Regions from separate parts of the Homo sapiens genome. Here region 2 is linked to region 1. Evidence: promoter capture Hi-C in 16 types of primary human blood cells and fetal thymus (Javierre and others, 2016). All regions are on one chromosome and are shown on one strand. Each heading gives the region's core, a stretch centred on a gene start or on the middle of the fragment in contact. The rest is flanking DNA. Distances are from core to core; before and after follow the strand shown.

The links. Contacts are between HindIII fragments. The CHiCAGO score rates a contact against its expected background, and 5 or more counts as called.
Region 2: a contact is called between a fragment that was not itself captured here and the fragment with the promoter of PPM1F in region 1, in 1 of 17 cell types (total B cells). The highest score is 6.6, in total B cells.

What each region holds. Positions count from the first base shown.
Region 1 is chr22:21,948,914-21,955,461 of GRCh38, reverse strand. It overlaps PPM1F (protein phosphatase, Mg2+/Mn2+ dependent 1F), which reads left to right and starts at 2,614. Exons shown (of 8, transcript NM_014634.4): 1 at 2,614-2,670. RefSeq lists a silencer at 2,422-2,831 and enhancers at 2,825-3,345, 3,392-3,461. The HindIII fragment of the contact is 22,373 bases long and covers 1-5,014 here.
Region 2 is chr22:22,955,928-22,962,475 of GRCh38, reverse strand. No RefSeq gene overlaps it. Among named protein-coding and RNA genes, the nearest start is that of IGLL5, 71 kb to the right of the region's middle. The HindIII fragment of the contact is 1,860 bases long and covers 1,959-3,818 here.

The DNA.
Region 1 (6,548 bases), core at 1,365-3,864:
GAGCAATGAGGACAAGGAAGGGACAAGACCCCTTTTAGGCCAGAACTGCCTTCAGATCAGCCACGCTCCATGGGACTGTACCTCTGCCCTGGAGGCTGGAGAGGTCAGTGGCTGCAGACTGTCTCAAGGAGCCCCTGGCCCTGCCCACCTAGCCAGGGGTGCAGCCTTGCCAGAGAAGCAGAGAAGCGTCTGTGGCTGGGTGGGTGATATTGAAAGATTCCTTTCACCAGGGTGGAAGCCAGGATCTGAGGCGTGATGGAATGTGGACAGTGAGGCAGTGACAGCGCCACAAGGCAGGAGTCATCTCCAGGCACGTCCTTGGCCTGGAGCCCATAGGGACAAGCTCCTGGTGGTGCCTCACTTTGCCATCCTCTCTAAGCCGCAGACCTTGAATGGAATCAGTGCTCAAGAGTCTAATTGGGCCCACTCTGAGGATGCCTGCGGGAATATCAGCTTTTACCGCACCACACTGCACTTTACAGTGTGGGAGGGCCTGCCCCACGCACCACCTCACCTGTACTGCGGTTCTCAAACTTCACCCTACAGCCATTCTGTTGTAGGTGATCTCAGGGGCAGTTTGAGAAACAGTGGCTCAGGGTCTCACAGCAGCCCTCTGAGATAGGTTGGTTGCTATTGTCCCGATTTTTTCTCATCAAGAAACTGAGGCTCAGGTGAGCTAAGGAATGTGCCCAGGGCCACTGTTTATAAGAAGTAGCCTCAAGCCTTGCTCATGGTTACTGCCCTGACAGGGATCTAGGAAAGAGTGAGCAGGAGAATGGGATGAGGCAGGACCCTCCGCCCCAGCCCTGCTTTCTCTGCCCAGACACCTCCTGCCTTGCAGACCCAACCCCACCCCAGATGGTTTCCTTTCCAGTCACCCAGCTGCTAGTTCTCCAGGTTCCTGGTCTCACTCCAGGTTCCTCCTGTTAGAGAAGCATCCCAGAGACATTCATTCCTGGCAAGGACACAGGCCTGCGGACCTGAAGGTCAGGTGGGCAGAGCCACATAAGATCTGGTGCCCCATCCTCCATTTAAAAAATTATACTTTCCAACGGCATTGGTATAAAGGTGAATATATTAATATCATATATTAAAACATTTTCTTTGACATAAAGGTTTCTTTCTTCTGCCTTTAAAATAAAATATTTTGGCCAGGTGTAATGGTTCACACCTATAATCCCAGCACTTGGGAAGGCTGAGGCAGGAGGATCACTTGAGCCCAAGAGTTCAAGACCAGCCTGGGCAACATAGAGACCCTGTCTCTACAAATTTTTTTTAATCAGCTGGGCGTGGTGGTGCTTGCCTGTGTTCCCAGACACTAGGAAGGCTGAGGCAGGAGGGGAGGGTCACTTGAGCCCAGGAGTTTGAGGCTGCAGTGAGCTGTGATCATGCCACTGCACTCCAGTGTGGGCACCAGAGAAGGAGCTTGTCTCTAAAAAGAGAGAAAAAGAATATTTTCAAGAGCCTCTGTGTTGGCAGAAAAATGGCCCTTCAGAGATGTTCATGTCCTATACCTGTGCCTGTGTTAGATTACATGGCAGACCCGGCATAGTGGCTCACGCCTGTACTGTAATCCCAGCACTTTGGGAGGCCGAGGCAGGCAGATCATTTGAGGTCAGGAGTTTGAGACCAGCCTGACCAACATGGTGAAACCCCATCTCTACTAAAAATACAAAAAAAATTAGCCGGGCATGGTGGTGCGTGCCTGCAGTCCCAGCTACTCGGGAGGCTGAGGCAGGAAAATCGCTTGAACCAGGGAGGCAGAGGTTGCAGTGAGTCGAGGTCATGCCACTGCAGTACAGCCTGGGTGACAGGGTGAGACTCCGTGTCAAAAAAAAATAATAATAATAATAAGGGGCAAAGGGGAATTAAGGTTGCTAATCAACTGATTTAGAGAGATGATGCTGGACTATCTGGGTGGGCCCAATGGCATCAGGAGGGTCTTTAGAAGTAGCAGAAGGAAGCAGAGGAGGGAACCAGAGGTGGCAGTGTGAGAAAGGCTCAACTGGCCATTGCTGGCTTCGAGGCTGTAGGAAGGGGCCACGAGCCAAGGTATGCAGGGAGCCCTTAGGAGCTGGAAAAGGCAGGGGAACAGTTTCTCCCCTAGAATCCTCAGAAAGGAACGCATTCTGGCGATCCCTGGATCTTCGCCCACTGAGGCTAAGTGGACTTCTGACCTCCAGAACGGAAAGATAACAAAAGCCTCAACGTTTGTGGAAACAAACAACTCATAATGAGCCTGGGACTGTGCCTCCTTCCCGGACGGATGAGCCTGCCTGGGCAGTCTGGGTTTGCATCCCTGCTCTGTCACTTACCAGCTATTGACGGCAGAAGTTGCTTAATTTCTGGGCGCTGTGACCTAGGGATTGCTTTCCCCATCCAGCCGCCCACCCAAAGCTGCAGAAGAGAAGCAAGAGGCTGGTGACTGGGGCGGCTCCGGAGCCCAGGTGGAGCCGCAGTTCGCCTACCACTAAAGGGCCGCAGTCACCGTCCACGTAGCCGCCAGGGGGCAGCAGAGGTCCGGCCCCGCCAGCCTGGAGGCCCGACTGCGCCTGCGCGGCGCCCGCGGCGCCCGCGGCGGCCAGGGACGGGAAGTGGGCGGGGCCGGCCGGCAGCAGCTTGCGGGACACGGAGCCGCGAGGAGACAGCTGAGGCCCGCGGAGACCAGGGGTGAGGAGGCCGGGGGGGACGGGATTAGAGGGCTGACGGGGCTGGGACGAGGGTCAGGCGAGCGCCCAAGGCGCACAGGGGTGAAATGGGACCGAGGAACCGGAGGGGTGGAATCAGAGGGCTGGGGAGGCAAGGAGGCCGAGACGAGGCTCACATGGGTGCACCGAAAGGGTGCGGGGGTGCAGTGCGGGGGGCCGAGGAGCAAGAGGGGCCGCTGCGGACATGAGGAACCCGAGGCTGGGAGTTGGGGGGCTGGGGAGCCAAGGGGGCAGAACTGGGGGGCAGGCGGGGGTGTGGCCGAGCCGAGGGCCTGGTAGGGACCGAGGGCTATGAGGCAGAATCGGGTGCTGAGGGGGACGCGCCCCATTTTCCGAGATTTGGCCTCTCCCCACCCCCCAGGAGCCTCTGGGCCGGCACGTTGCCCCATATCCCCCCAGTCCCTGCACCTTCAGGGGCCCAGTCTGCCTGATGGCCCCCGGCTCCGCGGCCTCCCAAGCGTCCGTGAAGCGAGCGTCAGCTGCACAAGTGCTCGGGCTGCAGCTGCTTCAGCCACAGGTCTGTGAGCCAGAGCCTCAGGCGCGGAGGCCGGGCACATTGCCGCTGGGTTCGGTCAGGCAAGCCCCTGAACCTGTCTGTACAACAGGAAGAACTGGCTCCGGCTGCAGGGATTTCGGCACAGCGCTTGACACACAGTGAGGCCCACTGCATGGTGGCGGGCTCCTTCGAAGCCTTCCACCCTGCGGGACAGAGTCACACATGTCGTGGTGGCATTCCCCGGGACAAGTTCTCTGGGCCCAGCTGAGCTCTCACCACGGGGGATAGAAAGTGGGGCCGGCCAGCACTCTGAGGCCATCTCCAGTCTCTTCTGTTGTCAAATTTCGCTCTTTTCCTCCTGCACGCGAGGTGGAAATACCAAAGGCATTGGGCATCCAGAGACCTTGATTGAGTTCGCTTTGCCCTTTCACCTGTGTGAGACCTTAAATGGGTGCTTGCCCTCCTATAACCTATTTCTTCATCTGCAGTGTAGCCTGACAGTATGTACTTCTCAGCGTAGTTGTGAGAGGTAAACAAAACGAATGCATTTCTGAAAGCCATGAACCTCTACACAAGTTCATTTGTGGAATTCCTTTAAGATACCCCCTGAAGGCCGGGCGCGGTGGCTCATACCTGTAATCCCAGCACTTTGGGAGGCCGAGGCAGGCATATCACCTGAGGTCAAGAGTTCCAGACCAGCATGGCAAAATCCCATCTCTACTAAAAATACAAAAATTAGCCGCGCGTGGTGGCAGGTGCCTGTAATCCTAGCTACTCAGGAGGCTGAGGCAGGAGAATTGCTTGAACCTGGGAGGCGAAGGTTGCAGTGAGCTGAGATCCCACCATTGCACTCCAGCCTGGGCAACAAGAGCGAAACTCCCTCTCAAAAAAAAAAAAAAAAAAAAAAAGGATACCATCTGACCTGAAGCCAACCGAGTCTTTTAAGACCTGGCGCTGCTGCCCACTGCACCCTTCAGAGTGGTGTAGCTTCCTCAGCCCATGCCACCCGCCAGTCACTCTTCCCTCTGCCATCACACTTACCACCTGCTGTACACAAAGGGCCATCGTGGGCTCCCTGACTACAGGGAGCTTACAGTCTATCAAGAAAGTCAGGCCTGTAGAAAGAAATGGTCATTGCACAGCAATGTGACTATGCTTAATGCCATGGAACTGTACGCTTAGAAATGGTTAAAAGGATACATAGTGTGTATATTTTACAACAATAAAAAAAATTTATATATGTAGAAAAAAAATCTAGGATTTACATCTAACTATTATTAGTATTAGTAGTTATGAATAAAGAAATAAGAATCTCTTTTGGTAGAAAAAGGTTGGCCAGGCGTGGTGTCTCATACCTGTAATCACAGCACTTTGGGAGGCTGAGGCGGGCAGATCACCTGAGGTCAGGAGTTCGAGACCAGCCTGGCCAACATGGTGAAACCCCATCTCTACTAAAAATACAAAAAAATTAGCCAGGCGTGGTTGTGGGTGCCTGTAATCCCAGCTACTAGGGAGGCTTAGGCAGGAGAATCACTTGAACCTGAGAGGCGGAGGTTGCCGTGAGCCAAGATTGCGCCACTGCACTCCGGCCTGGGTGACAGAGCAAGACTCTGTCTCAAAAAAAACAAAAACAAAAAAAAACAGTTAACATGAATGATGCTTTTGTTACACTATAGTGGTGCAGTTCCCTTTTCTAAGGATTGCTGGGTTTTTTTCATTACCTTGGTTCTGCAGTTAAGCAAGACTCAACAAGTATTTTTTCTATGTCCCCTAAAAAACTGCAGTTGTTAAACCCTGCATTCGTTAAGCTTAGGAGTCAAAACTAATGCACTAGAGGAAAATAAATATTTTAAATTAAAAAAAAAAAAACTTTTTACAAGTCAGATGTGAGCAAAAGTGCCATAGAGACATGAAAGAGAGCATGCTGGATCCAAAGATGGGGAGATTTCAGCAAAGCCTCAAAGGATCTGAGAGATCTCGGGAGGCAAAATGGAAGGAGGGCACCACAAAACAAGGAGGGGAGGGGCTGCCCTAGGGTGGGGGGTACACAGAAATGGAAGGAGGAGCCATGAGAGAGCCAAAGCCCAGAGCTGGTGGCCAATGAGGGACAGGTCAGGGATAGAAGGAGTCAGAATGACTTCCCAGGTGTCATCACAGTTAAGGCCCAGGTTCCCCAGCATGAACCCCACCCTGGGACTTTGGGCAAGTTCCTTAGCTCTTCTGCTACAGCCTGCCCTGTGAAGTGGGGATAACCACAAGAGGTTGTTGGGAGGCTAAAAGCCATCCCAGGAAGAGTGCTCAGAGCAGGGGCGGATGGCAGCTGGCAGCACCGTCAGCCACACCCCTGCAGCTGCCCCCCGATGAGTTTGCTTTGCCATTTCTCACCTATGTGGGACCTTAAATAGGTTCTAGGAGGGTGAGCACCCATTTGGTGTGCAGTGGGGCCCTGATCCAGGAGGAACCAGCTGCCAGTCGCATTTGGTCAGACTGGTCCAGGCAGGCGGTGCTGGGATGCAGGAGTCCAATGTCCCTCCCATGCCCACCCCGGGCTCTTGGTGATTTGCACAGGCTCATGCACACGTCCCTCTTATTCGGAGTTTTTCACTGGTGTGCCCTGCTCAGGAAAGCCCAGCACCAGGCTCCGCTGCCTCTGGTGCTCTCCCAGCTCTCCCTACTCCCTGCGGCTTGCCGCTGGCCTCCATGCCATTCCTGATGCTGTCTCTTCCAGTTGATCCCTCAAAGAACCACAGCACTGTCCCCTGCCCCTCCAGGCACTCCCAGGGCTGCCTCTGGTTTCCCTTGGTGAGGAATTTCTCCTTCCTGCCGGGTGTGCCATGGTGTACGTCAGATTCAGGAGCTTATTGGGAAAAGGAAGGAAATGATTCCTGTCCCTTTCGACATCTGGGCTCCAGGGAGAGAAAGCTGTGTCCTGGTTTCTCTCCTCACCCCTTGCCTTAGGTTGGTGATGCAGAAACAAGGGTGCTTGGTCCCCAGCAAGTAAGATGGCCCTGGGCACCCTGCCTTTGTAACAAGAGCAGGCAGTTGGCACAGGCCCTGAGAGTAAGCCAGCCTGTCCCCTCTACAGATGCAGACAGAGCTTCACACACACACATCATCACACCCCCCAGACCTTACTTAGTACACATGGCACAGACACCATTGAGGCATGTGCAGATAGTGGGCACAAGGCACAGAGAGAGCAGGCAGGTGGCCACAGTGAATCAGGGTCTGTAGTGCAGACAGGAGGAGCCACCCTCCCTGAGGGAACAGGCCGATTGTGGGGAGGGGCTCACGGCACAGGAAAGAGTACCCCAAGGTCAGGAGGCAAGAAGGAGGCACCTGCA
Region 2 (6,548 bases), core at 1,639-4,138, 1.0 Mb before region 1:
TTTTTTATTTTGTTGAGACAGGGTCTCACTCTGTTGCTAAGGCTGGAGTGCAGTGATGTGATTATAGCTCAGTGCAGCCTCTAACTCCTGGGCTCAAGTGATCCTCCTGCCTTAGCTTCCTGAGTAGCTAGGACTACAGTGATGCACCATCACACCAGCTAATTAAAAAAATTTTTTTTTTGTAGAGACAGGGTCTCGCTATGTTGCCCAGGTTGGTCTTGAACTCCTGGCCTCAAGTTATCCTCTCATCTCGGCCTCCCAAAGTGGTGGGATTACTGGCATGAGCCACTGTACCTGGCCACTTGCATTGTTTTTCTGAGAAATCTGCTGTCATCCTTTTCTTTGTTCTTCTGCATATAATGTATTTTTTTTCTTCTGGCCACTTAAAATTTTCTCTTAGATGAGTTGGTTTAAGAAATTTGATGATCATAGTGTGACTTGGTATGGTTTTCTTCATGTTTTTGTGATTACGGTTGGTTGAACTTTTTTAATCCGTAGGTATACAGTTTTCATCACATTAAGAAAATTTTCTGTCATTATTTTTTCAAATCCCCTCTTCTTTTTCAGAGACTTTAACCACATATATATTTTACCACTGGCATTTATCTCACAGGTCACTGATGTTCTCTTTATTTTTTTAGTCCTTTAACCCTCTGATAATTTTGTATAATTTCTACTGCTCTGCCTTCAAGTTCACTAATCTTTTCTTCTGCAGTTTCTAATCTGTCATTAATTCCATCTAGTGTATTTTTCATCACATTGTTTTCTATAAGTTTAATTTGGTTTTAGAAAAAACCTTCTGTGCATTCGCCAAAAATGTTTAATCCTTCCTCTAGTTCCTTATACATATGGAATAGTATTATAATAACTGCTTTAATGACCTTATCTATTTATTACCTATGTCAATTTTGGATCAGCTTTGACTGGCTGATATTTTCCTAACTATGGATCATATTCTTCCACTTCTTTGCCTGCATGTTAATTTGTAGTTGAATGCTAGACATTGTGCATTTTATCTTTGCAGGTGCTAGATATTTTTGTATTCTTAAGTTGTGTTCTGGTACACAGTTAAATTATTTTGAAACAGTTTAATCTATCCCCAGCTTTCTTTTAACATTTTTACATGAGACCACAACAGCATTAAGTCTATGGTTAATTTTGTCCACAGATCAGGAAGACTCCTCTGAGTACTCTACCTGATGCTTAATGAATTATGAGATTTTCTGTACTTGTTGATGAGGTCAGGCATTATTTTCAGCCCTGAATTTTCTCTGGGGATTGTTCTGTTCAATGCTTTTGGGTAGTCTTTTTCTTGGCCTCAGGTACATTCCTCATATGCATACACTGATCACTACTCAGTATAATACTTACACTCTCGTATTTGCAGAGTTCTCTTTCTGTTAAGCTCCCTCCTCTTTGGTACTCTGCCCTATGAACTCCAGCGGCCTGGGATCCCAAGCAGCTCTGTTTCTTCAACTCGGGGAGGCCAGTGGGCTGTGGTTACGTTCTCTCCTCCTTGAGCCTCAGACTGGAAACTCTCCATGCAGTAATCTGGGGCAATCGTGGGGCTCATCTTATTCATTTCTCATCTCTTATAAACCACTATCTTTCATTGCCTGATGTCCAGTGACTTAAATATTTTGTGTTGTTTTTAAAATTATTCCAGGCCTAAAAATAAATCCAGCTCCTGTTACTCCATGTTGACCAGAATGTATAATTGTTATTGCTGTTTTTTTTCTTTAAAAAACACCTTTATTGAGATGACTTATCCAATTAAACTGAGGCTCATTTGCAGGGATAGTTTTTGAGGTCAGTGTTTGAGGTTTGCTTTGACCCCAAGAGGTCTGTTTTTAGCCATGTCTTTTCCTGGTTCTCTCTGATAAACTAGCTGGCCTATGGTCTAGTTTATGTCACTAATGAACTTACCAGTTTCCTCTCAATTGCTTTTTGCCCAAGCTTCATTGTTTTGAAAGTCCCCTTAATGTTGAACTTTGTACTCATTTGCAAATAAAGTCAGTTCATTCGGGAAGGGCTTTAGAGCTCTCTATGTCCTGCCTTTCCTCTTGGGGAAATGTTTCAGGAGCTTTTGGCTATGGCTCTGGGGCTGGGTGGGGACAGTGGTAGGTAGCTACTTTCTGAGTGACACCCCTGCTTTAGGAGGTGGGTGCTTATTGGAGAGTCTATTGTATTCCCAGCTTGCTTCTCATAGCATGGAACCTCTACTTTACAAATGAGCTGGTTGATGGTGCCAGTATTCTCAGTGTGTTGCACCCAAGGCAGGGCTTTTGTCCCACAAGTAGGGGCTGAGCAAAAGAAGAGAGCCTCAACCGATTACTACAATCACCTGGAATTTAGTCTCTGCAACAGGTAGCTGGGGTGGGAAGAAAAATGCTGATGGATTTTCCTTCTTGGGAAAATACCATAGCCCTTGACTGGGAGCTGGGTGGAGACAGTGCTGTGTCCTTGGCTGTACCCACCTGGAGTGGAGTTTCTGTCACATTTTGCTGGCAGTGGGAGGAATGGAGCAGGTCGTGGTTGAAATGCCACAGACCCTCCCATTTCTTGCCAGGTTTTAATAGATGTTCTTGAATTAAATGTTTTTTTATTTGCTGTATGCCCTAAGGCCATTTCTAGAGACTTTAAATAAATACATATATCTTAAATATTTTATACACACACACAATTGCCCATTCTGGAAGTGGAAGTCCCCCGTCTCCACCCCCAGGAGGTTTTCAACACTCTAGATGTGGATGCCCAGCTGACCGCTCACTCTGCCTCCCACTGCAGGAAGACTCAAGGATAGATGCCCCAGTGAGTCAACCTCCTAGCTTCTTTTCAAATTCAAACAATCTTTTCTCTAGCCACACCTTGGTTCATAGGCTAAAACCCTTGTTACTTGGATTTGACCTTTTTGAGAATTTTTGGAGCGTGCACAGTCTTGTTGAACCCTAATGCAACCAAGTAGTTGTGTAGTTCTCTTCTAGGGTCAGATTCACTCTCATCAGATAATGTGTGGACCCGGGAAACAAATTATCTGTACATGCTGGCCGTCTCCCTGCATTTCCGCCACCTGGTGGGCAATTTTCACATGGACTGCCTTGAATCTGGATTATATTTGGTGGTCTCTGGCACCCTCCGGTGATGAGATATTTTAGCCCTGTGTTTTGTGGTAGTTTGACCGTATTTCATTTGTGATGAAGTGATTTTTGACCTGTATAACTGCTTTACAAGGAAACACACTTGGAGCTTGTTCACTGAGGGGCTGGAATAGTCAATCTGCATCCATGTCCACAGGCTGTTGGCTGGCATTTCTTCGGTGATGAGTCTGGTTTAGCCTCATTGTGAGAACATGCAAGGTGTGTGCATCCCTGGGTCTCTAGTTTAGTGTTCCTTCCAGGTCTTGGGCACCTATCCCAGCAGATCTTGGTGGCAATCATGAAGGATATCCTGGGGACATCACAACATAGTCCTCTCCCAGTTTTGCTGGCCAGCAGTGAAAAGACCGAGAGGCTGCTTTCGGGTCTTGTTTTTACAACTAGACCTTCGAAAGACATAAAGCATCTGTGTCCCTGCTTTGTAAGGTTCCAATCACCCCAGATCTTTTTCTTCATCCCCATGAGCAGTGGGGGGTCACGTTAACAATTTGGATCCAGTTATTCTCAGCAGCTAATGTCCTTCCAGCAGAGAGGGCGGACGCTGGGACTGTCCCATCATCGATGTTCCTCCAGCTCAGCCATCTTCTGGCTGCTGGACCAGATTGTCTGACTTTATTACCCAAGGGCTGAAAGGCTTATTGTCCCTGTGGCCACTTGGAAGCTTATGATCTTTGACTCCTGAGCTGTATTCTGTCATCCATTTAGCATAATATAGCGATCAGTCCAAGGACTCCAGTTCCTTATTTTACTTGTGAAGGATCATTTAGAAAAAAAATTCAACCTCCTTAGCAGTAGTTTGTCCTGGAATGTTGGTTTTATTAATAATTACTGTGGGTTACACCTCCCCTGCCTTCTCACCTTCTTTGAGGTTTCCCACATGAAAACCCCTGACACTGACTGAGGGATGGTCAGATTTTTAAAAATGTGACATTGGGGTTTTGAGGACCAGCATTCACGTCCATCCTGTATGAGGCCATCCTTGAAGTCAGAAGTTTTCCACTCTGAACCATCATTAGAGGAGTCATCGCTATGGTGACATGATGGTTTTCTCTCTTTCCATGAACTTGGAGATGGGGAATTATTTGAAAAGATAGAGAGCTGAGTGTCCAACCTCACTCTGGTCATATGACGTCTCTAGGGGAGCAAAGGCTAAAGGAAATTGGTTTCCTCCTTGCTGTGCAATGCACTAGCTTTTGGACACATGGCTGTCCTGTCACTTTTTACTGGAGCTAGGCCCGAGGCATTTGCAGGAGTGTAATTTATTTGGCCCCAAGCTGTGACACGTTCTGGGTCCACCGGAAATTCTTGATTTCTTTTATACTCTGCTGGGCGGGCTTCTCTAGGGTACTTATTCTAGGAATAAATCTCACGAATCTTTGTGGGCTTTGAAGTCCACATTGCTCCTTGGAGAGGAGAGAGCATCTGCATCCATTCTTTGCTCACCCACCACCCCCGAAGTGGCCATTCCAAAGAAAGCTGCCTGTGTTCTCACTGGCTGATATCTATCCCCATTTTAACCTGATTTAGATGGGGCTGACCAGCATTTATGGTTTGGTCACAACGCTTGCCTTCTGCAGTTCCCTGTGGCAGCTGACTGTTTGCATTCTGCAAGATGAATGCCTGAAGGCTTCATTTGACTTCATTTGATTGAAGGTCTATCATAGTAGCAGTTCGGAGATGACCTTCATTTCCATGCCATCTTTTGATGCTGAGATATTGTGTCAACCAGGGTAGACTCAGGAGGCAAACCACACCAGTAATTTGAACAGGGATTTTTTCAGAGTTGTTAAACTATAAAGAGTGGTGAGCTCATGAAAAGGATAAAGCAGGACTGTACAACGTTCATGAGTAGCAGATTCAGAAAGCAGCTACCGACTCACGCGGAGTGAGTGAAGGAACTAAGAGCTTGAGAATGGGACCCCAGGCAAGGCTGAGATTCAGACTTTTCCAGGAGAGCATGGTTTTGCTGTGAGCTGTAGCCTGCCAGAGGCCAAGACGCTTGCCAGAGAGTGTGAGCAGAAGCTGGTCCATGGAAGGGCCTATCATTGCCCAGGGGTATGTGGGTGGGCTGGTGCAGGTCTGGAGGATCAGCCCCAGGGTGGAAAGGTGATTGCCTGAGGATGCAGTAGGAGCTTGTCTGTAGAAGCAGCAGCCAGGGACTTTATATTTGCACAGATAATCTTTTCACACATTGCCCTTTTAGGGATATGGAAAGTAGAGTCCTGGGCTAAACAGATGCCTTCTTTAACAGTTCACTATGGAAGCTGGATGTGGTGGCTCATGCCTGTAATCCCAGCACTTTGGGAGGCCAAGGTGGGAGGATTCCTTGAGGCCAGGAGTTCGAGACCAGCTTAGGCAAATAATGAGATTCCCCATCTCTACAAAAAATACAAAAATTAGCTAAGTGTGGTGGTGTGTGCATGTAGTCCCGGCTACTCAGGAGGCTGAGGCAGGAGGATCACTTGAGCCCAGGAGTCTGAGATTGCAGGGAGCTATGGATGCACTGCTGCTCTCTAGCCTGGGTGATACAGGGAGACCCTGTCTCAAGAAAAGGAATACACTATGGAAAAGGAGGTGAACGTTCGGTGGTCAGCAGCCTGTTGCTGCCATAGGGGGTTTTAGTGGCCAAAGGCTAAGTGTAATGGCTTTGCTATTGCAGGGGCCACCCTCACTTCCCCGCCTATCCTACCATAGGCTGAGATATTTAGGCCACTGAGATTCTGCACACAAGTCTTACACACAGAATCAGAAGGAAATTGACCAAAGAAAGGCCCTGAGATGGTTGTCCAAATTCCAGGAGGAAGCGCTCATGGTGAACCAGTGCTCTGGTCACACTAGCTGAGTAACTCTTGTTCTAGGAGTGCTGTGGTGACTGCTTTGGGTTGAGGGACGCTTCTGATAATTCTCAACCAGGGGTAAGGCAAGGGGTCTGCAGGCAGGCAGTGGGAATGACTGCTGTACGAGGTCACTGCTTATTCCAACACCAGGAGCCATGCCACTCTACCCCAGCTGCCACAGGAAGGGAGACCTGCAGGCTGCCCATGTAGGAACTCCCCAGGCATTGAGTTTTTGCTGGAGTTGATGGGTCCCAGGGTTGGTTGAGGAAGAGGACAGGAACCTTTCGTGGGGGTGCTGGTGGGAGAAGAGGGGTGTTTCTTGTTTTCCCATACTCTAGGCCCTTCTCTACATGGTCTGGGATTTGCTTGACTTTGCCACCAGATGTCGCTGTCTACTTGTACAGAAGCACGGGGAGGCGACTACAGCCTGCCCAGAACTGAGAATTAAGAAACAGGGTTGCAAAAAGCCCAGTGGTGTCCCGCAACTGGCTTGCACCAGCTCAGGAGAGCTGATGATTTAAGAGCATCTCTTCCCAACTCTGTGTTCAGTGGGGCA